2 separate regions of the Homo sapiens genome follow, and region 1 is linked to region 2. The links are contacts of gene promoters, found by promoter capture Hi-C in blood cells and fetal thymus (Javierre and others, 2016). All regions are on one chromosome and are shown on one strand. Each heading gives the region's core, a stretch centred on a gene start or on the middle of the fragment in contact. The rest is flanking DNA. Distances are from core to core; before and after follow the strand shown.

Region 1 (4,176 bases), core at 1,296-3,795, 3.5 Mb before region 2:
AATCAACATCCAAATATTACAATTTAAAAAAGCCACCTCTAGAACTGACCTAATAATTTCCCCTACCAAACACGCCAGCAAACCAAATTTAAGAAAATATGTTTCAATGGATCTTAAACTACTTCTATTATCAAAAAAATTTAAAACACCAACTGTTTTAATGCTAATATGTCCTACGGAAAAAAGCACATACATTTTTAAGTGATATACAATCTATAACTTCTAAGTATTTTGTATAATCTTTCTACTAATAGAATTACCAAAAAAATTTCCAATAAGAGTATTTAAGAAAAACTTAAAAATAAGATACTTTGTTCAAAACTGTGTATTTTAGCAATAGTTCCCTGACGCAGATAAGATTCCCCAGTCCCCTAGCATTATTACTATAACTATACTTGGTAGTACTACTATATTTAAACTTACTACATTTATGGTATATATTCGTATATATTCTACTTTAACTCAAATCCTTACCCTACTTAAAAAAAAAAAAACCCAAAAGGTTTTCAAAAATGTACTAAAAAAGTCACAAGTTAATTTCTGTTAAAATATTTTGCTTAGTTTTCGATAACTCCACTGAAATTTTAAAAATAAGAATCTTGAATTATTACATTACCAGAAGATTAAGGGTCAGCATTCAAGAGCACTGTTCAAGATCACCCTATATCACAAGAACTCTAATTACGCAGGCTCTAGCTGTTTACAACCTTAAAGACATTACCAAAAAATAATACATTGTATTAACTACCTTATTTTTTTAATCCAAAACCCCAGGCATTGTATATCAAATGGCCATCCTACAAACAAAAAATTCTTTCAATGACTCTAATATAACTGAATCTGACAAAAACATTCGGGAGACGATGAGAAATCAGTGGTTTGAATAAACTGCACACCTGGAAAAGGAATACACATATAGATATGTACATACGTATACATACGCATATGCATATATATACATATATGTGTATACGCATATACATACGTATGTATATACATGTATATATGTATACACGTATACGTGTGTATATACGTATGCGTATACGTGTATATACGTATTCATATACGTGCGTATATACGTATACGTGTGTATATGCGTATATGTATATGTGTGTATACGTATATGTATACGTGTGTATATATGTATATGTACACGTGTGTATATATGTATACGTACATATGTTAAGGGACAAGTAAGAGACATATTTAATGCTTTCAACTTTCTAAAGCTTTTAGGTCAAGAGTTTTTTTTAACATACAAATGTGAATTTTAAAAACTTGAAAGAAAATCCAATAATATACATAGGAATAAGAATTTTTGAAAACAAGTAGTAATAGCTAAATTTCTGCCAGAAAGGAAAACGTTATACAAAGTGCAGACTAAATTGGGGCCGGGGGGTTGGGGGTGGGGGGGCATGGCAGGACAAAAATCAAAGCTAAAAAGGGAATTCTGGGAGTTATTCAATTCCATTATCTGCCCTCAGGTAAGTAGCCTAAACCTGCCCAGTAAAGGAAAGCCAACTCTTAAGACTTTCAGGGAATAAGAATTCTGAAACCAACATAGCTCAACATTCCACAAAAAATAAAAATAAAAAACAAAAAAATACTGCTTCGAGGACTGTTAAAAGAAGGATGAAACTAAATAATTCAAGACTTCCTACAGCAGGACTCCAGCTCATTCACTTCATTCAGAACCCAATTCAAACAGAGGGTGCGAAGTTATATAATGTCAGGCTTTACATTACACACCCCACTGGTATGTTCAGGCTCACAAAGATGCAACCAAGAACTATATGCGGTTGCAAGCACATATTACAGAAGGTTTTATTTTAATGTTAAGGCTGATGAATCTTGTCCTAAGCAGGTAGGACACCTCACAAGCACTGAGTCTGAAGCAGTGAAGATTTTTTTTTCTTTAGTTTAACAAACTGCTTAATCGTTCATCAAATTACCCCATATATCATGAAGGCCCCAAACATAGTGAAGCTTCACTAGTTTTTCATTTTTAAGATGTATTCAAACATCAAGTAATGCACAACTTGCCAAGAATATTTGAAAATGGTTACTTTTTTAAAATTTAAACTCGTTAGTGCATAACTGCAGGGTTTAATATTACAATCCGAAATCCAATGTTAAGCACTATTCGCAGTGAATCTATATGAATATGAGCATTCTAAGACATAAAATCAACTAGCATTTTACACATTCTCAACATAAAACATCAGATTCCATTTATTTTTTCATCACCATAACCAAAAGCAATCGATTTGGCCAAACTTTTCCACGTGAATTATCTTTGCAAGCAATTTTATTAACCCATGTTAGACCAACAATAATCCCTCCAAAACAAAATAATGCTCTTTTAATTTAAATCATGTTTAATCTTTTATAATGACAACTTTGACAGCAGTCAAATATTTTTAAATAAAATACTTTAAATACTCAAATTGGAAAAAAAAAAAAAAACTTTAAGGCAGGAGACCAACAATTACTGACGCTTAAATCTTTCCAGAGCTAGTCACTGTTCATTTTTACAGCAATAATTGTAATGAAGCCAATTAATACCTACGTAGTCAAAGTTTAATTCAAGTTTTCTGTATCGGTCAAAGGGGCCGGGCTTACTGAAAAGCATTATTTCCATTTAGTTTTCTGATTATATGCAATATAACACCTTATAATTACTTTGAAATAAAAACAAATGTGTAATTACAGATAAAAAGGAATTGATGACTCTGCGAAACCAAGCTACAGACAAAAATTCAGAACAACAAAAAAATCAACTTAAGAATAAAATGTTAGACTTATTTCAAACTTGCGTCTCAACTGCAACAATAAAGCTAGGTGTCAAATGCAAAGCTATGATTTCAGCTAGAAAAGAAAATGTCTAACGGATACAACACCCATAGCACACACTCCAACTTTCACGGTCCCAATTACGAAGAAAGTATTCAAATACCATTGCAATCAGATTTTGGTCAGGAAATATAAACTGATGCATACAGATTGAGACTCCAGCCTTTGTTCAATAGCTTACAGATGGATAACTAAATGTGCTACAGGTTGATAAGCATTTACCAGGCTTATGCATGCTGCTTCCAAGCTTATGAAAGGTATAAGAATTCTATATGCAAATAATCTTGGGTAATTTTTTTTAAACACCACTGAGCTACACACTCCGAAGGAAAGGCTTATTCACGGCTACTATTTATTTCCATGTTTACCTCTACACCCTCCCCCTAACCCCCCCCTTCACTTTCTCCTCCCACCCTGTCCCGCCATCTTGGGCCGATAGGAGCAGCCATTACTTAACTAAATGACAGTGCCAACAACTTTCCACACAAATAAAAAAAGACTACACCCCGAATCCTCCCCAGCCTCCCCTGTCAGACACACAGGAAATGAGGCTCCAGGAAGAGAACACGTTTACAAATAACTACGGTATTTCTATGCCAAAAAGACCCAAAAAGTAAACAAGTCACCTAACTTCAGGTAACACACACTGCAATCGAGATACATGTCAACAGCCCAATGCAAACTCTTCACCGACCTAAACTCCGTGAAACTTCCCCCTTCTGGGAGCGGGGACACAAGAAAGCCTAAAACATTTGGTTAGCAGTAGGCATCACGAACAGCCTGCTTGAAGGAAAAGAATTTTTTTAAACCCGTAGAGGCAAGTTAAGTCCGAAATTTGGGAAAATCTGAACACACTCACGATCCCTTGACCCTAAACAGGCACCTCGAAGATCATCGGCCTACCCTCAAAAAGCTGTAAAATAGCAGGCAGTTGTGTCGACCCAGTTGAGCCCGGCCCCAAAGCGATCCCGTCTCTGTTCCTCCAGCTACAAGAGGAAAAGAGCGATTTCGCAAGGGAGCAAGCAGGGTACCCGGGGGTGGGGGGAGAGCAGAGGCAGGAAATAGTTTCCGGAAGCCCCTCGACCATCGTCCGTGGCCACAATGAGCACAGACCCGGCCGCGGGGCCCGGGGCGAGCGCGGCGCCGGCCAGGGAGACGGTGTCCGCGCTCCGACTCGCAGCTGCCTTACCTTGCCCAGTAGGGCCTTCGTCCTGGCGCCATCTTCATGAAATCTCACGAACCCAAAGAGGCGGCTGTGGAGACAGACACAGTTTACTCGTTAACGCTCAGGGAACGCCACCGACCCGTCCCTGCCCGAGCCCG
Region 2 (4,276 bases), core at 456-2,955:
ATAGCTAAATGGAAAATGGTAAAACTGGGAATACTCTGTGCTGCTGGTAGGTTGTTAAAGTGTCTGTTCAATTCAACATGTGTCAGCAATTAGAGGATTTAATATAATTGGTTCATTAACGGGTAGAAAATGCTTCCAAAGGAACAGATCAATTCCTAAAAAATATTACATATGACTACATTAAACTATGTATTCAATTAATTTGTGCCACTAAACTTCGTCTCAGGATTATTCCGGAGTTTGTGAAATCAACGCTCCCCTAATCACAGTAGACAGTAGTTTATTTAAAAGCTCCGCATAACCCACACAAGAGCTTATCTGAAGCCTGGTGCCACTGTTGCGGTGGGATGCAGACTTCCTGCCACCAAAGTCCATAACCTTCTCCTCTCAAATCACACATCTTTCTCTCCTCTGCCCCTAAACCCTTAGAAGAGGGGATTCTGGCTAAGAGAAAAAACCCGGGGGCCTGGGACCCATTGCAAGATTCTACTCCACAGATAGCAACAAGTCAACAACAAAACTGTTTACTTCCCCCCTAAGCCGGGTGTTTTTCCAATGGCGGATTCCTGGATCACAGTCACTAACACGAAGACACTACCACAACCCGCGATGACCCCTCCACCCCAGAAAAACAACGCGGGACTCCCGGCTAACATACCACACAGGGACAATCTGGGGCAAGCAAGGAGGAGAAAGGGCCTCGCTGGCTCCCTAACCTCCCCGCCACGTCCAACCTCTATCTCCAGGGCCCAGCGCGCAGCGGCCAATTCCTGCCTCCCCTCCCCGCCCCCACCCCTCCCCCACTCCTCCCCAATCTTCTGCGTCACAAAACTTTCCACTCCGGAAACGCAGCCTCCCCGGCTGCGGCGCAGGGCCCCCGGACCCTGCGGAACCTGGGCTGAAGCGAAAAAGCCAGCGGAAGGAACCCGGGAAAAAACAAGAAACCCATTCCATCCTCCTTTCCAGGCCTTCGCCCGCCCGAGACCCGCCGTCTCCCGGAGGTGAGCCACAGCGCCGCCCAGCACCACACAAAAGAGGCCGCCGCCATTACCCCGAGCGAAGGCCGCCCCCTCCCACATTCCTGGGCCGCGTTCTACCCCTTGCTCGCAGGCACGCAAACACCGGGTGCCGCCAGGTCCTCCGGACGGGAATCCAGGCTGCGCCAGCCGTGAAGGCCGAAGCCCTCCAAGCCAAAAGGGCCTCCAGTCGCGTCCCGCCGCGCTGCGCACTCCCGCAAACCCCCCCAGGTCACTAATCAGTCGGGATTCGCGCATGCGCGTCCCCGCGAGAGCGCGCGCACTTCCTCCCCCTCCGCCCGCCTGCGCACGCACACACAAAAGCCGCCATTGTGCTCGTCCCGGGGACAATACAGCGGGCCGAGACCGGGCCCGGGCGACAGCCCCAACCAACATTCCTATCCCTCTATAGCCCCGGGGCACTCACACCCGCCAGCCCGGGGCACCCAGAAAATGAAAAGTAAGGGTGCCGGTTAGCGCTGCGCCATTAGCCAGGTTAGGTCAGGGGAGGAATTCACGCAGCAGCCAGCCCGGTGGGGTTCTTGCGGCTCACCTGCTGGTCCAGCCCGAGCGCATTTTCCACTGCCACATGACTCATCCCTGAAGAGTACCGAGAACTCGGAGTCTTCCGCTGCTAAGCGAGTGTTTGTTCCACCGCGAAGGCCCTCTCACGGGAGAACTGCGGCTCTGGAGCGCACCGCGCGGCCACGGATCTAATATACCCGCTGGAAAGCCGGCTACGTCAGCACGTACAACGTGTGCCCTCCCTCTCACACCGCAATTCCCTGTCGCGGCGACTTCTGCCCGGCTACTGCGCGCTCCCTCAGGTCTAAGCTCAAGGGATTTCCTACTTAGTCCTGTCGCCCCTAGCAGTCCTGCCTTGGAGCTTAGGGTGCGAAATGCTGTCCCAGTTCTCTCGAGCTACACTTCCCGTGCTCTCCGCTAAAACCCTAGTCTCAGCCTCGGAGTTCTCGAGATCTCGCGAGAACTTGCGTCTCCCGCTTTCCACCGGCTAAGACGCCTGAAAATGTTAACCTAGGCCTCTTCGCCCCCCTTTCCAACCTTACGCATTCGCTCCCCTTTCCAACTCTATGCACTCAGCTTTCGTTTTTCGTTTTTTTTGTTTTTGTTTTTTTTTTCCTAACACTGGCCTTCACTCTTCTTCCTCTCTCAGTTCCCGGGCTTGGAGATGTGGTGGGATTTCTCCGGTCTAATCTGCCCTCGCTCTTCCGCGGGTAGCCTCCCCTTAGTGGGAGCTAGGCAGATTCCCGAAACTGAGAGGGCGGCAGGCCACGTGACCGTAGGTGTCGCGTGCGGTGGCCATTTTGTGAAGCAGGAAACGGTGGCTTGAATATAGAGTGCTCCGGACGGGGGAGGGGAGGGGAAGAGGAGGAGAGAACAGAGGGAAGGGGAGGAGAGGGAGGGAAAAGAGGGGAGCGGAGTAAGGGGAAAGGAGGAGGGAGGAGGGTAGGATGGTGACCGGGGCGGGAGTCGGGGGGAAATGGAGGGGAGCCGGCGGCGCGCGCAGGTGGCCGGACACCTTCCTGCGCGGTTGCCTAGGCAGCGGGGGCGCCGCCTAGAAACACACAATGGCCCCTCCTGGCCAACCCCCCGACGTGTGCGCGCGCGCCTCCGCCCCCGCCCCCCGCGGTGAGGGAACAATGAGACAGACACGCGCTGATCCGGAACCGCCGCTGGCGCGCCCTCCCGGGACCCCGGCTCTCCGCAGGAATGCGGGCTACATTTGCCCCTAGTTTCCTCCCGCGGGGCGCCCAGCGGCTTAGGGCCGGTGACCACCGGCGTTGCGGGGACCCCGCGGGTGGCGAACGGCTCTTCTAGGGCCCAAGGGTGTCGGGAATGTTTGTAGCCGGTGCAACCTGGGCCTGCCGGAGGGGCTGCAGCGGGGTTACCGGCCTGGGCTCGGGGTGACTCTCAGGCCGCTGCGGTGGATGAGGAACAGGAGGAACCGGGTTTCTACCGTCGGTGGAACCTCTTCCTGTGGTTCCCTCCTAGGCAGGCCACCCCAAGTCCCGGCTTCGGTGCCGCAGGCCCTTAAATAGAAGAAGGTGTTTACTAGTGGATTCCCGGCTTTGAGCCGGCGCCCGCACATCCGTAGTTTCTTATGACCGCTTTCCCCTCTCTTCTGACCCTCAGCCCTACGAAATTAAATAAAACGCAGTGGTTTCCACCACCCCCACAAAAGGTCTTCTGCTGCCAGAATTCAAATAGTTCGTGCTCATCACATAATTTACTATACACATAACTTCTCTCCCTTCTCAATTTTTAAAATCGAGACGGAAATTCGAACGAGATAGGGAGAGAATATCACACTGTCGGGGGCAAGTTGTTTAACGGCTTTGGGTCTCAATTTGCTCATCTATAAAAGGAGTCTGCTACATTCCATAACCCTGTGAAAGACCCAACTCCTTTTCATAACGAGTATTTTCTAACGCCCCCTTTACCTATACTGAAATAACAAAACCTAAATTGTTTATGTAAACCTACAAACACAATTTCAAAAAACATGATCTGTCAACAAACGAAAGCAAAATGATTATAATAAAACAATGTATTATAATATGTAAATGCCGCCGCACAGCTACACTAACTGGTGGGAAGACACTTGCCCAGTAGAGCCACAAATGCAAACTGGAAAGGTGTGTTGATTTCACAACTCAAGTTCCATGAGCAGCATTGCTACTAGGAACCTCATTTTCCAAAATGATGAACTATTAATAATTTTTAAATAAAACAGTACAATCTTCCTTCAATTGAAACAGTACCTGCATTTGTGGAAAATTCAGGATATATGGAAACTGGGCAAAGATACTTTGTGTTCATATGTAAAACAGTGTTAGTTCTAGGCTTAGATGATAATGAACTAGTTTTTCACCGACATGTGTCCAGTGATTCAATTATTCGCTCTGTGGGACTGACCAGCATCATAGAACATCCTAGCGTGCCTGGCTCCTGCCCACTAAATGCCAGTAGCTCTCGCCAGTCATTGTGACAACCAGAAATACACAGATTTCTACAATGCCCCTTGGAGAGCCACTAGGTTTAATGATATTAGGGTCCCTTCCTGCCCTGAGATTCGTGGATTCTCATGGAGTTTTGGTGAAGGACCTCGGTTTTGTTTCAGTTTCGTTTTCCTATGAACCAGGGTAAACATGAGTCAGGTTCGAAAACTGTGAGTTCCGACAGCTCTTCAAACTGCATATAGCAACAATGGGATGCACTGACTACCCTGGTTCTGGGCT

The links. The method cuts DNA at HindIII sites, captures the fragments that hold promoters and counts their contacts. A CHiCAGO score of 5 or more calls a contact.
Region 1: a fragment that was not itself captured here is called in contact with the fragment with the promoter of DDX3X in region 2 in 1 of 17 cell types (fetal thymus); the score reaches 9.2 in fetal thymus.

Annotation. Positions count from the first base shown.
Region 1 is chrX:44,873,854-44,878,029 of GRCh38, reverse strand. It overlaps KDM6A (lysine demethylase 6A), which reads right to left. Exons shown (of 30, transcript NM_001291415.2): 2 at 4,043-4,106. Among named protein-coding and RNA genes, the nearest start is that of KDM6A, 2.8 kb to the right of the region's middle. RefSeq lists silencers at 3,843-3,942, 3,953-4,032, 4,073-4,176. The HindIII fragment of the contact is 1,114 bases long and covers 1,989-3,102 here.
Region 2 is chrX:41,331,591-41,335,866 of GRCh38, reverse strand. DDX3X (DEAD-box helicase 3 X-linked) reads right to left here and starts at 1,705. Exons shown (of 17, transcript NM_001356.5): 1 at 1,570-1,705. The coding sequence starts at 1,614. RefSeq lists an enhancer at 2,075-2,304 and a silencer at 2,395-2,884. The HindIII fragment of the contact is 5,677 bases long and covers 1-4,276 here.